Regions from separate parts of the Homo sapiens genome. Here regions 1 and 3 are each linked to region 2. Evidence: promoter capture Hi-C in 16 types of primary human blood cells and fetal thymus (Javierre and others, 2016). All regions are on one chromosome and are shown on one strand. The core of a region is centred on a gene start or on the middle of the fragment in contact, and the rest is flanking DNA. Distances in the headings are between cores, read along the strand shown.

Region 1 (4,094 bases), core at 184-2,683, 920 kb after region 2:
ATGTCAGGGACAAAGTACATGTATTTTGCATAGATGGACATGTGACAAAATAGAAATTGGTTTTCTGAGACAGGATTCTCCACAGCTTCTGCAGGAGGGAGAATGTAACTGGATACCAGGATTGCAATCATAACCTTTTATAATTTCGGCTAGTTTTGTGTCTTTTAAAAAAATTACATTGGATAGTTATTTCAGGATACAGTGTGTTATGGGTTAAATTGTGTCCCCCTTTCAAATTCATGTGTTAAAGACCTCACTTCCAGTATTTTATAATGTGACCTTATTTGGAAACAGGGTTGTTGTGGATATGATTAGTTAACATGAGGTCATATTAAAGTAGCGTCTACTGTACTCCAATATGACTGATGTCCTCATAAAAAGAACGCTAAGTGTGCAGACAGACACGGACATGGAAAACGTCATGTGAAGACTGGCGGGGGCATGCTGCCACAAGCCAAGGAATGCCTAGACGCTGAGATGCATTAACAGGCTCCCATCACAGCTCTCAGAAGGAATCAACCCTGCCAATACCTTGATTTGGGACTTCCAGTCAGACCTCTGACAATAAATTTGTTTAAGCTGCCTAGTTTGCAGTATTTTGTTCCTGCAGCCCTAGCACATCAACAGTGAAAAGAATATGGATTCTGATGCCAGCCTTTAGTCTTTGCCCTGCTGCACGATTATTTTTGACTTTTGACGAGTAATTTCCACATTCTCATGCTTAAAATTCAATTTAGAATAACTTTTACTTTATTGGATTCCTTTGGGGATTAAATTAGTTACAAAAGATGTAAAGCGACTGATCCTCAAAATGATTTCTTTCCCTTGTTTTGTGACATGTCATGCTCTCAGTTATTTTCAGTGACTTTTATGGAATCCTAAATATATCAACTTAAAAAATTACATTAGCGATATTCTTGGTGTTACCTGACTGTGGTGCGGTCCAGAAAAATAAAACCACCTGTTAGAATGCGGGTTAATTAGATGGGACACTGCGATTTACAAAGCTTTCTATTTGCTGCCATGCCCAGTACAATGTCTTTGCATACTAGGTACTAAATAAAATTATGTTACTTAAATGTCACAACCTCTAAAAGTTTAAAAAATGACTTCTCTAAAAACTCAAATATTTTTTTCCTTGGCGTTCCTCTTACAGAATTGTTTTTAGTGATAAAGTTTTATTAATATACTTAATGCAGAAATAACTTCACTTCTTTTTTTTTTTTGGTAATCTGGATCCCCTAAATAGAATGCTAAATTTGTTTCTTGTGCAACAAACAAGTTACCACTTCTGACTCTTCATCTTGAGCTTCCTTATTTTTTTTTGGAGACGGAGGCTCGCTCTGTCCCAGGCTGGAGTGCAGAGGCGCGATCTCGGCTCACTGCAACCTCCGCCTCCCGGGTTCAAGCGATTCTCCTGCCTCAGCCTTCCGAGTAGCAGGGGTTACAGGCGCGCGCCGCCACGCCCGGCTAGTTTTTGTATTTTTAGTAAAGACAGGGTTTCACCATGTTGGCCAGGCTGGTCTCGACCTCCTAATCTCGTGATACGTCGGCCTCGGCCTCCCAAAGTGTTGGGATTACAGGCGTGAGCCACCGCGCCTGGCCTTGAGCTTCCTTTTTAAAGGAAGGAGCAGGAATGTTAACCTACACAGAAAAAAAAAATGCTTTCACGCTCTTGATTTACTCTAGGTGGGCTTCAAATGCGCGGTTAGCGCTTTCTGTAGAGCGTTGAGACGGCTGTTTACGTAAAGACCATCATGCGACGTTTCCAACCTAGATTCTAAGAAAAAAGCGGCCCAAGTCCCACCTTTCGCAGGGAACAGCTGATTCTGTTTTTCCTTCCCAGCCAATGGTGATCAAAAGCTTCAGGACGCTGGTGAGTCACTGCGGAGGAGCCGAACACTGACCGCGCCGTCCCCGCCAGGCTCCCGCGCGGCCGGCACCGCGGCCCTGAGCGCAGGCGGCCCCGGGTCTCAGGCCTCAGGCGGACCGCGCCCCGGGCTCGCAGCCCTCCCGCCCCGGCTGCCGGGCTACGGGGCAGATGGACTCGGAGCGCCCCGCCGGTGAGTAGCTACGACCCCCGAGGCCACCTCCCGCGAACCGCTCGGCGGCAGGAGTACGTGACCAAGGGTGGGGGCGTTGGCCCAGCAGCCGAAGGGGTCTTCAGCGCGCCCAGACCCCTCGGGGCTGCGGGGCGGAAGCCGGGGCGTGACTTCCGGCGCCGCCGGGTGTGGGGCGGAGGTGTGGGGCGGCTTCCGGAGAACCCAGCGGCGCGGGACTGGGGCGGGACTTCCGGCGACACCGGAAGTGCATTAGCGCCAGGTTGGGGTTGTGGGGTCGCGTCAGTGCGGAGACAGCGGTGTCCTGCGCGTCTTCGGGTCAGTACGGGGGGCCGCGTCGTAGGGACTCACTGGCGGTGCGCGACCTGGGCTGGCTCCGGGGGTGGCGGGCGCAGCTGCTGTGACAGGTGAGTGCCGCCATCTTCCTACCTGTCAGGCGCCGAGTCGTTCCCCGGATGCCCCGAAGAGGAGTCGGGACACTGCAGGGCTCAAGGGGGTGCAGGGGCAGTCGGGGCATAGTGGCGGATGGGGTGCAGGTGGGCTTGGAATGCAGAGGGTCCGTGGTGGTGCAGGAGGGGTCGGGTCCCTGGAGGACCCGTGGCGGTGCAGGAAGGGCCGTGGTGCAGAAGGGTTCAGGGTGCAAGAGAAGTCGGGGCGCAGGAGTAGTCCGTGGCGGTGCCAGAGGGACCAGGGTGCGGGAGGGATGGGGGCCCGGGGCGGTGCAGAAGATGTCGGAGTCCAGGAAGAGTCGGGGCGCTGGAGGGGTTGGGGGCAGAAGGGTTCGGCCCGGGGTCTCTCCCCGCCCCCTTTGCTTCGGCCTGGGCATCCCGGGGAAGTGCGTCTCCAGGGAAGCACTTGGGAGGCCCTTCAGAGAGGAGAATGGCCTTTCTTCTCTCCAAAGAGTGGGGATGGTCGGCTTCAAGAAGGGTGGTGAGTGTGGAGTGACGGATGCTGAAGTGATTAACACAGCGCCATGATATTGTTCCCCTTTTGAAGACTTCCTTTTCCTTCCCTTCCCCCTGAAAGCAGCCACCGCTGGAGGGAAACATTTTAAGACAGCTGTTCACCGGAATAACACAAGAGCAACAATAATAATGTACTCATTTACTAAACCAAGTTGAATAAATACATTTTTCCAGGTTGTGAGTGAAAATAGCTTAAGGTCTGCCAGGTTTTTAGAGATTTTGTCATTTAACTTAAACGCTAAAACATTCGTCCCTTGAAGCGGATACCATTATAGAAAAGTGTTAATTGCTTGGAAGTTTCATTTATTGAAGTTCAAGTGTTTTTCTCTTAAATTCAGTATGTTGGCCTGTGAGTTACGGTCATAAAAGTATTGCAGGAATTATTTACCTCTGAATGAGAAAGCTCAAGATAGTTATATCTCCAGGAACTTTCTTCGTCTTCTGAACTTCCCCCAACCCCAGCAGACACACACACTGTTCTGGTTACTTTCCTGATCAAATTCGAGTCTTTCAAAATAGCTTTTGATATGTCCCAGGAGTTAAACACGGTATGTAAATATGAACTCACCAATGTGGAACAAATGGAGTGATCTGTTATCCCCTGGGTTTAGACGCTGCCTTTCTATTAATACTGCTCACAGGAGACAGAGTAGGGACTCGTGTGCACTGGCCACGTCTCAACAGCAGTGTGACCTTGGGCAAGGCCTTCCTAAGTCCCGACTCCCTGTCCTCTAACATGGTGTTCATATCAGCCTCATTTTCTTACTGGGAAGGTTACGTTATGTAATATATGCCAGCCATTTTTGCAAAGTGCTGTATACAGGAGATCTTGAGTGAGTGTGTTTCCCTCCTCCTCTTTTTGGGTAGCTATGTTAGGCTGTTCACTTTGGGCATTTGCCCTGAACTAAAATCCCTAAGTCCCTTTCCCCAAGGTGAAACTAAGATAGAGTTTTCATATTTATCCTGTCTTATTCTTTTCAGGGAAAAGATTTTACATCTGTTGAATTTCATCCTTGGTTTAAAGTTGTTCTTTTAACTACTGAGATCTTTTGAAAATCTTGATGGCTAT
Region 2 (4,133 bases), core at 992-3,491:
TCCTTTGAAGAAAAGCAATGTTACGTTGTTTGAATGTGTCATTACTAGTGAATTAGAATAGCTGTCAGTATTTATTAATAGTTTTATTTCTTCTATTGTACATTATCCATGGCTTTTGCGTTTTATGTGGGGAGGGATATTCGTATTCATCTTAGTGGATAAATACCACCTTACTTGGAAAATAGAGCCAAGGGTTAAATTCTAGGCAAAACCAACAGGAAAATCAGGGTAAGTTATCTAACTTACATTAGGTTGAATGAGAGATGGTATCTGCGTATAAAATTTTAAATGATCCCTACAAAGTATAACTGGGAAAAAAATGTGGAGTTATGCTGCCACTTCTTTCCTAAAAGGTAAGCTTCCTTTTATTGATACGATGTTGTCTTACTCGAGTGCCTTCTCTAAAATACACAGAACCATGCAGTCCTCTATTTTACAGATGAAGTAACAGACTGTTTAAAAAGGTGACTCACTGAAAGCTCTTCATTGTTGGAATTCCTGGCCCAACATTCAAACCAGGCATGGCTTGCTTTTCTTCTGACACGTTTTAACCCCTCTACTAAATTTTTAGCGATATATATTTACTCTTAAAATGAATTACAATTATTCTGTGATGTTCTTTGAGATAATCAAAAACTCTCTGGGATGTATCAGATTGAGGGCTGTGAATAGCATGAAAGATTGTGTTTATTTGACTAGTGTATATCACAGACCTATTCAAGTACCACCCATTTCTAAATTCTAACAGTCTTAGAAACCAGCTGTAGAAGCAGATTGATATATTTTATCAGAATCCCCAAATTCCTACAACCGTCTCTTCCTAATGACTTTTCAGGTGGGGACACGTGCCAAGACGGCCAATAGATACCTGAAACCCGGGGTAGTGCTGAACCTTACTTACACTACGTTTTCTCCTATACACACCTGCCTATAATAAAGTTTAATTTAGAAGTCAGGCACAATGAGAGATTAACAACACTAATAATAAACCAGAACAATTATAACACTATACTGTAGTAAAAGTTATGAGAATGCGGTCTCCCTGAAAACACCTTGCTGTCCTGTACTCACCGAATTTCAGAGCAGAGGACTCTGACTGACAGGTGTTCCCCGACTCCCAGTGGCGAAAGGTCCTCAGGGAAAACAGGTGAACGCTATCAAAGTATGCTTATCTCCGAACCTTTCTTAAACCAGAGTCTTAAGGGATCGTCTCTGATTAGGTCTAGAATTCCTCTCCATAGAAGATAACCTACTTCTCGCGCAAATCTGCAGTGTTCTTGCAGGGCTGCTGATGGGTGGTCCTGTTCTTTTCGCGGTCCTGTTTGCGCAGAGATGAAACGGGGAACTTAGCGTATCCCTACCGCTCTTTTTGATGACAGGAGTAAAGGGCTGTTCAGACTACCTAAACAATGTTGTTAAGAGAAGCACTCGTACTTCTCAGACTTCGCTGTTCCGGACCCCGCGAGCCAGGGGCAGGCACCGGGTCCACCCGGGGCTGAGCTGCGGCGGCGCCTGACAATGCCCCCTCGCGCCCCGGCCTCGGCGCCCGCTCCCGGCTCCAGCGCGCCTGCACGTACGTAGCCTTCACGTGTGTGTGGATACGGAGTGCATGTGTGGAGACAGAGGAATATGCTCCAACAAATTTCGGATAGAGGCGCCGAAGACAGGACGTGGGGAAGGTAGGAGCCGCGTGCACGGCTCCGGCCCCGGGCGGGAGGCGGCCGCGAGCCGGGCCGGCCGCGCGCAAGTCCGGCGCCAGCCGCTAGAGCCCCCAGTGCGCGGCCCGGCCGCGGGGCGCCTCGACCCGACACAATAAACTCCGAGGGCGGGCGGGCCGAGGGGCCGGTGGGGCCGAGCGGCCGCCCCGCGCGCATCGCCATGTGAGCGGCTGCCGCGGCTTCGCGGGGACCCAACTTTCCCGGGCGGCGGCGCCCAACTTCCCGCCGCCCGCTCCGGCCCCGCAGGCCCGCGGCGCCAGGGGAAGACGCGAGTAAGTGCGGGCGGCGGTGCCCTCCCGGCCCTCACCCCGCACGCGGCGACCCGGCCGCCTAGCCTCCCTCGCTCAGGCGCGACCGCGGCGTTCTCTGAGGTGGAGTATTACAAACATGGCGCCCCTCGAGCCCGGAGCCCTTCGCGCGGAGCCGGCGGCGGGGTCCGGGCGGGGGGGAGCCGGGGAGGAGGGAGGAGGCCGGCAGGGAGGAGGAGGAGGCGGCCTGAGCGTCCCCCCCGCCCCCCGCGCCCGTCGCCGGCTCAGGCCCGAGAGGCGCCGGGCGGCGGGAAGGAGGCGGCACCGGAGGGGAGGGCCGGGCGCGGCGGCGGCGGCGGTGGAGGAGCCGGAGCATAATGGTGGGGAAAGCTCGGCGGCGGGGCGGCGGGGCGGGCGGGGGCGTCCGTGGAGATGGCGCGGCCCGCGCGGTGGAGCCTGCCTGGCCGCGGCCTCTGGGGCGGCGGCGGCACCAGTGGGTGCTGACGGTCGCTCGCCCGCTCGCGAAGAGCTCCGAGCTGCCGGGGAGCTTTGTGGATGGCGGGGCGGGCCGGGCCGGCGGGGCCTGCGAGGGCGGCGGCGGGGCCTGCGGAGGCTGCCGGCCCGCGCCCACTCGCCTTGGGCGGCCGCGGAAGAGGCCCCGGGATGAGGCCCCGGAGGACCGCGCGGGGCCTGCTCGGGCCGGGAAGCCGCGGAGTCGCGTGAGCACCGCCCGCCGGGCCCTGTGCCCCGCTTTCGGTCAGGCCTCCTGGGCCCGTGCGCAGTCCGGGCCGGCGGGGAACGCGGCTCCGGGCGTGTGGCGGGCGGAGAGGAAGCGTTTGTCGGCGCGGCACGTCGTGTGCTAGCCCGGGAGCGGCGGGCAGGGCTGGCCCCGAGGCCCGGGGCGGAGATTCGTCGGTCCCCCGGGGCTGTGAGCGACCCCGGCAGCGAGGCCGCCGCCTCAACAGGTCCTCGCGGACCTCCGGGACAGTCCTGTGGGGTCCGCCGCCCTCCTCCCACCCAGAGCTCCGGGGAGAAGCTGCTGAGGACGCGGCTGGGACGAGGGGGGGCGCCGGGACCCGGACTTTCACTTGCAGTCTCTCCTCGCGCTTTTCTCCCGAGCCGGGAGGAGGAGGAGCTGGCGATGTGTGCGCCGTGCCCGGTGTCTTTTGCAGAGTGACCGCCGTACCTGTTTTATTCGTGTGTACCAGTGCTCGTTGTGCAGTGCGGTGTCCTATGCGGTGGGTACGCAGTACCGGGGATTATATATGGTGTGTACTCTGTGTCATATGCAGTGTGCTCGAAGTACCCGGTGTCGTACCGGCTATCATACACGGTGTGTACATGTATCTTCCTCGCTTAGGCTGTGCACTCAGCCCCCGGTATTGTGTGCAGTAGGTGCCTGGTACCCTGCTGCCATATGAGCTGTGCGTGTGGTACTCCATGTTATATACGAGTGTATGTAGTATCTGGATAGTATTGAATATATTTACCTTACCTGTTGTCACATACAGTGTGTATGTAGTACCTGGTGTCATATATGCGGTGTGTATAGTACCAGGTGTCATATACTGTGTGCACACAGTACTTGGGGTCATATATGGTGTGTACATAGTATCCTTTCACACTGTGTATGCAGCACCCAGTGTCATATACAGCCCTTACGCGGTTCCCGGTATTTTGTGCAGTATGTGCACGGTACCGTGCTGCCATATGCGGTGTGTATGCAGTATTCAATGTCATATACGTTAGGTATATAGTATCTGGTGTCATATACAGTGTATATACACTACCTGGTGTTATCTATGTTTTGTATATATATCTGGTGGCATGTACAGTATGTATACATTACATAGTGTTATATATGGTGTGTAGGTAGTACCCAATGTCATATGCCATGCATATATGGTACCCAATGTCATATGCACCATGCATGCACTATCCTTGTCACATAAGCTGTACTCAGTGTCAGATGCAGTGTGTACCTAGTACCGAGTGTCATATGTACTGTGTACACAGTACCCACTGTCATATTCAGGGTATCTAGTACCCTGGGTCATATACAGTGTGTACATGGTATCTGGTGTCAAGAATGTGAGCCTGGAGGAGATACCCAGGTGGCCCATTCAGGACCCTGCTGGTAGGAGGGAGTGGTGCAGGTTGGGTTTTT
Region 3 (4,616 bases), core at 1,780-4,279, 790 kb after region 2:
TCACCATGTTGGCCAGGCTGGTCTCGAACTCCTAACCTCAGGTGATCCACCCGCCTCGGCCTCCCAGAGTGCTGGGATTACAGGCGTGAATCAAAGTGCCTGGCCGAAAGAGGGCACGTTTTTAAAGACTGAGAAACAGTATAATTTAAAGGTCATGTGGCTAAATTACTCTATCTGAAAATACTTTATGCGCTAAATGTAGCTATGAAAAGTCAGTTAAAAACTTGTAAATATAACTTTTATACTCTATAAGAAACTTTCTAATGTATGCTTTTTGAGTAAAGATTTTCCTATTTGTTTACAGAAATGTGCAAGTATACAATCAGCAAACAATTTCTCTGGAACACAGGTGGGAGATGTCTTTGAGCATTCTTATCTCTTTACTTGAATTACTTTCACTAAACATCTACAGTTTACCAGTCCCTGGGCTGGGCAGAGGTGACAAGCATAAAAAGAGAATCTCACTCACAAGGAGCTTACATTAATTATGTGCTAAGTAACACAAAGGTACACTTAGTTGCTACAGAAACAGAGAAGCATAATCTCAGAAGTTAATGCAAAGCAGTCTGGAGGACTCCTAAAATATCTTTTTAAGGATGGTTTAAGGAGCTAAGTAAATATTTTAAAAATTTTTTTAAAGGAGGTGGACATTCAATTTCAGTCAAAGAATCTACCAACAGCAATGGCTACAACGTTTGCAACACCAAGGTAGGAGAGGGAGGCGTGGTCCTGATTAAAAGGTGGGGCAGGGCAAGAAGGAAGACACAGAAGTGGAAGCACACACAGGGCGAGGCCTAGGGCAGTCCTGATGAGTTTCTGAAAAGAGGCCAGCCATCAGGCTATGCCACACTCTGGCTACAGTGCGACTAAAATGATTTGTGTAAATAAAAGAGCATTTTATTGGGCAAATTTATGCACATCAGACTTCATAAAGAACACTTTCAGCAAAGATCAAGTCTCATCTCTATGATTATCATACTCCCCCTAAAAAACTAAGCAGTACGCTTTCAAATTTGTGTTAAACATGGCCGGGCGCAGTGGCTCACGCCTGTAATCCCAGCACTCTGGGAGGCCAAGGCAGATGGGTCACTTGAGGTCAGAAGTTCAAGACCAGCCTGGCCAACACAGTGAAACCCAATTTGTACTAAAGTACAAAAATTAGCCGGGCGTGGTGGCACGCACCTGTATGTAGTCCCAGCTACTCAGGAGGCTGAGGCAGGGGAATCGCTTAAACCCTGGAGGCAGAGGTTGCAGTGAGCCGTGATCGTGCCAGTGCGCTCCAGCCTGGGCAACAGAACGAGACTCGGTCTCAAAAAAAAAAAAAAAAATTGTGTTAAACATGAAATACTTTCAATATTGCAATGTACTCCATGGTCTAGGTCTCCTAACCAGGGCAATGGGGTTGATGGGAAAGAAGATGTAAAACCAGTAGCATCACTGAACTGCAAATCCTTTATGGTTGAAATAGGAGCCATGACAGCTTCACCAGAAAAACTATGAGAAGACAGAGTTTATAAAGGCATTGAAGGGACAAAAGGTATTAAGGTATGGGGTGGCGGGGGGGCAGTGAGAAAGAGAAGGGAAGGAAACACAGCTGAGTTAATAATTTTCCTTGTTCCTAAGGAAGGCATTTACACACAGGAAAAACAAAGCATTAGAACGTTAGGGGAAAAAACTTTCAAGTTGGAATTTATCTCCCTTCTTTTGAGAACCTAGCAGTTTTCTACCTTACAATTCCATGTTCTAAAAAAGGAATTCATTTTCCAATCAAAATAACTCTAGAAGTAGAGTAGTTACAAAGATATCAACCAGCATAAGAGCAAAAAGTTTAAACTGAACTAAACTCAGACCTGATGAGGTTAACTCTCTGAGTGCCTCATTTACTTCGTACTCTAAAATAAGCTTTTACAGAAAAAGGAGAACTCTTCACATCAATAAAGTTCTACAAAAGAGCATAAGCAAGGAAACCCTTACAGCAGTGTCTGTTTTTAACAAGGTATTTTCCAAAAACATGACTTCAGTGTTCATGTCTTCTCCCCATTGGAAAAAGGTTGTTTTGAGAATTTTGTAGAAGAAATTACAAGAATATACTCCAAGATTTTTGTGCAATTTATCAATCTGAAAAGAATATCCCTAAATCTGACAGAATCTATAAGAGTACTGTATGCATGATAAAAGCATATTTAAAACTTGTACCTTTGGCCAGGTACGCCGTGGCTCACGCCTGCAATCCCAGCACTTTGGGAGGCCGAGGCGGGCGAATCACCTGCGGTCAGGAGTTCAAGACCAGCCTGGCCAACATGGTGAAATCCCAACTCTACTAAAAATACAAAAAAAAAAAAAATTAGCCAGGTGTGGTGGAGGGCACCTGTAATCCCAGCTACTCGGGAGGCTGAGGCAGGAGAATCACCTGAACCCGAGAGGCGGAGGATGCAGTGAGCCAAGAACGCACCATTGCACTCCAGCTTGGGCGACAAGAGTGAAAGTCCGCCTCAGGAAAGAAAAAAAAAAAAAAACTTGTACCTTTAACACTAGGATAAAAACAAATGAAATCGATTGATGGTAACACATCTATACAGCTTTTTTACAACTTTGAGAGGCCCTAACATAGACAACACGTTACTAAGATTAGAAGACCTAGATTATAATCCTAGCTATCACTATTTTGACGGAAAATATGAATTTTAACATGACAATGAAATAACAGTGAAAGGAGTTTGTCAGCCACTCCTTGGCTGGTAACATCTACCATAGCCTATCACTACAAAAACTTGCAAATCTATGTAGAGTAGCTGCAGCTACCTGAAGGCACTGTTCATTGTAAACACCATTAACAATTTGATGTCCCAATTTGCATGTTTTGGGGGTGGGGGGAGACAAGGTCTCACTGTTGTCCAGGATGGAGTGCAGTGGCAGGATCATGGCTCACTGCAGCCTCAACCTCCCAAGCTCAAGCGATCTTCCCACTTCAGCTTCTCCAACAGCTGGACTACAGGTGTGAGCCACCATGCCTGGCTAATTTTTTGATTTTTTGGTAGAGATGAGGTCTCTCTATGTTGCCCAGGCTGGTGAACTCCTGGGCTCCTAAACTCACCTAGGCCTCCCAAAGTGCTGGGATTACAGGAATGAGCCACCTCACCCAGCCTGCACGTATTTTAGAACTACATTTTAAGATAATGTGAAGACTGCTTCATAAAAACACCTTAAATATATACTTGTCAAAACTTGTGCTTACTTATGGAAATTGCATTAAATTCAATAAATTCTTTAAATCTCACTTTTAAAAATGGCAATCTTCCCGAACATTAAACCAAATTACATTTCTCCCTGAATTTGCTGCCACTTAATTTCAGCTACTCTTCTACAGAATAGTACCCATGTTATCTTTTTTTCTGTCTGGTTCCTACTCAAAAAGAGTGGAACTGCTTTCTCCAAATATGCATTCTGTGCTCAGAAGCTGTTTTCTCTGCCCAGATACATGTGTAAACAAGCCAAAAAAAACAAAACAAAAAAACAAAAACAAAAACAAAACTTTCTGCTAATAGATTGACAGCTACAAGGTAGAATATTTTAAAAATTCAGTAAGCTGGGCGCAGTGGCTCACTCCTGTAATCCCAACACTTTGAGAGGCCAAGGCAGGTGGATCACTTGAGGCCAGGAGTTCGAGACCAGCCTGGGCAACATGCTGAAACCCCGTCTCTACTAAAAATACAAAAATTAGCCAGGTGTGGTGGCATGTGCCTGTAAATCCCAGCTACTCGGGGGGCTGAGGCAGGAGAATAACTTGAAGACCTAGGAGGTGGAGGTTGTAGTGAGTTGAGATCGTGTCACTGCACTCCATCCTGGGTGACAGAACAAGACTCCAACTCGGGGGGGGAAGAAAAAAATCAGTAATAGTGAAAATAGCAAAACCAGACAACATTTCCATGTTTGTGTTACAACAGTCCTAAGAAAATGAGATTATCATCATCCCCCTGTTACAATTGAGAAAATGTAGGCAACACGAGGGTAACTTCTAATGAATAAGCCATGCCTTTGTTTCATATAAATAAGTCAACTCAACTCACATTAACTTTTCAAAATACCGGATAAAATTTATTTCTAACCAATGCAAGTTTCAAAGATAAGTACACAAATTAAATTTATGATTAAATAATAAGCTTGTTAATCTGATGCCTTTCGGAACGCATTTCACTTAGCAAACCTCAATTAAGCTATTTCTTATATGGTTTGATTACAAAACTGCCTTTCAGCATATTAAATACAAGGAGAAAAAACTGAAAAGCCACAACGATTTCAACTTCTGTAAATTACCCTGACTGTAATGAGGGGCGCCAGGCAGGTTGGGGAAGTATGGAAATTGCACACTGCACACACCACCTGACCACCAAGAAAAAAGAGGACACCACTCTTCCCCACTGTGGTCTTCACAAACTACAACTCAGCACCTATTTCAAGTGCATTTAAATATTCAAACAACTGAAACTAAGAGAAAAAAACTTTCGAAAGGGAAAATAACTTGTCTGTCCCCTTCAATGTTCACCTTGGAGTTGCTCTCATCTCTAGAAAAAGGCCTCACGCATACTGTTTATACTTACAAACTCCACTGCCCTGTC

What was found. The method cuts DNA at HindIII sites, captures the fragments that hold promoters and counts their contacts. A CHiCAGO score of 5 or more calls a contact.
Region 1: a contact is called between a fragment that was not itself captured here and the fragment with the promoter of ZMYND11 in region 2, in 1 of 17 cell types (total B cells). The highest score is 6.4, in total B cells.
Region 3: a fragment that was not itself captured here is called in contact with the fragment with the promoter of ZMYND11 in region 2 in 2 of 17 cell types (fetal thymus and total B cells); the score reaches 9.1 in fetal thymus.

Annotation. Positions count from the first base shown.
Region 1 is chr10:1,054,502-1,058,595 of GRCh38, forward strand. It overlaps WDR37 (WD repeat domain 37), which reads left to right and starts at 1,884. Exons shown (of 14, transcript NM_014023.4): 1 at 1,884-2,467. It also overlaps a transcript of IDI1 not described here. RefSeq lists silencers at 1,362-1,421, 1,852-2,281 and enhancers at 1,532-1,581, 2,382-2,441, 2,542-2,601. The HindIII fragment of the contact is 856 bases long and covers 1,006-1,861 here.
Region 2 is chr10:133,214-137,346 of GRCh38, forward strand. ZMYND11 (zinc finger MYND-type containing 11) reads left to right here and starts at 2,242. Exons shown (of 15, transcript NM_001370100.5): 1 at 2,242-2,346. RefSeq lists silencers at 1,484-3,043, 1,491-1,669. The HindIII fragment of the contact is 13,901 bases long and covers 357-4,133 here.
Region 3 is chr10:925,729-930,344 of GRCh38, forward strand. All of the region lies in intron 1 of LARP4B (La ribonucleoprotein 4B), which reads right to left. Among named protein-coding and RNA genes, the nearest start is that of LARP4B, 3.7 kb to the right of the region's middle. The HindIII fragment of the contact is 2,258 bases long and covers 1,901-4,158 here.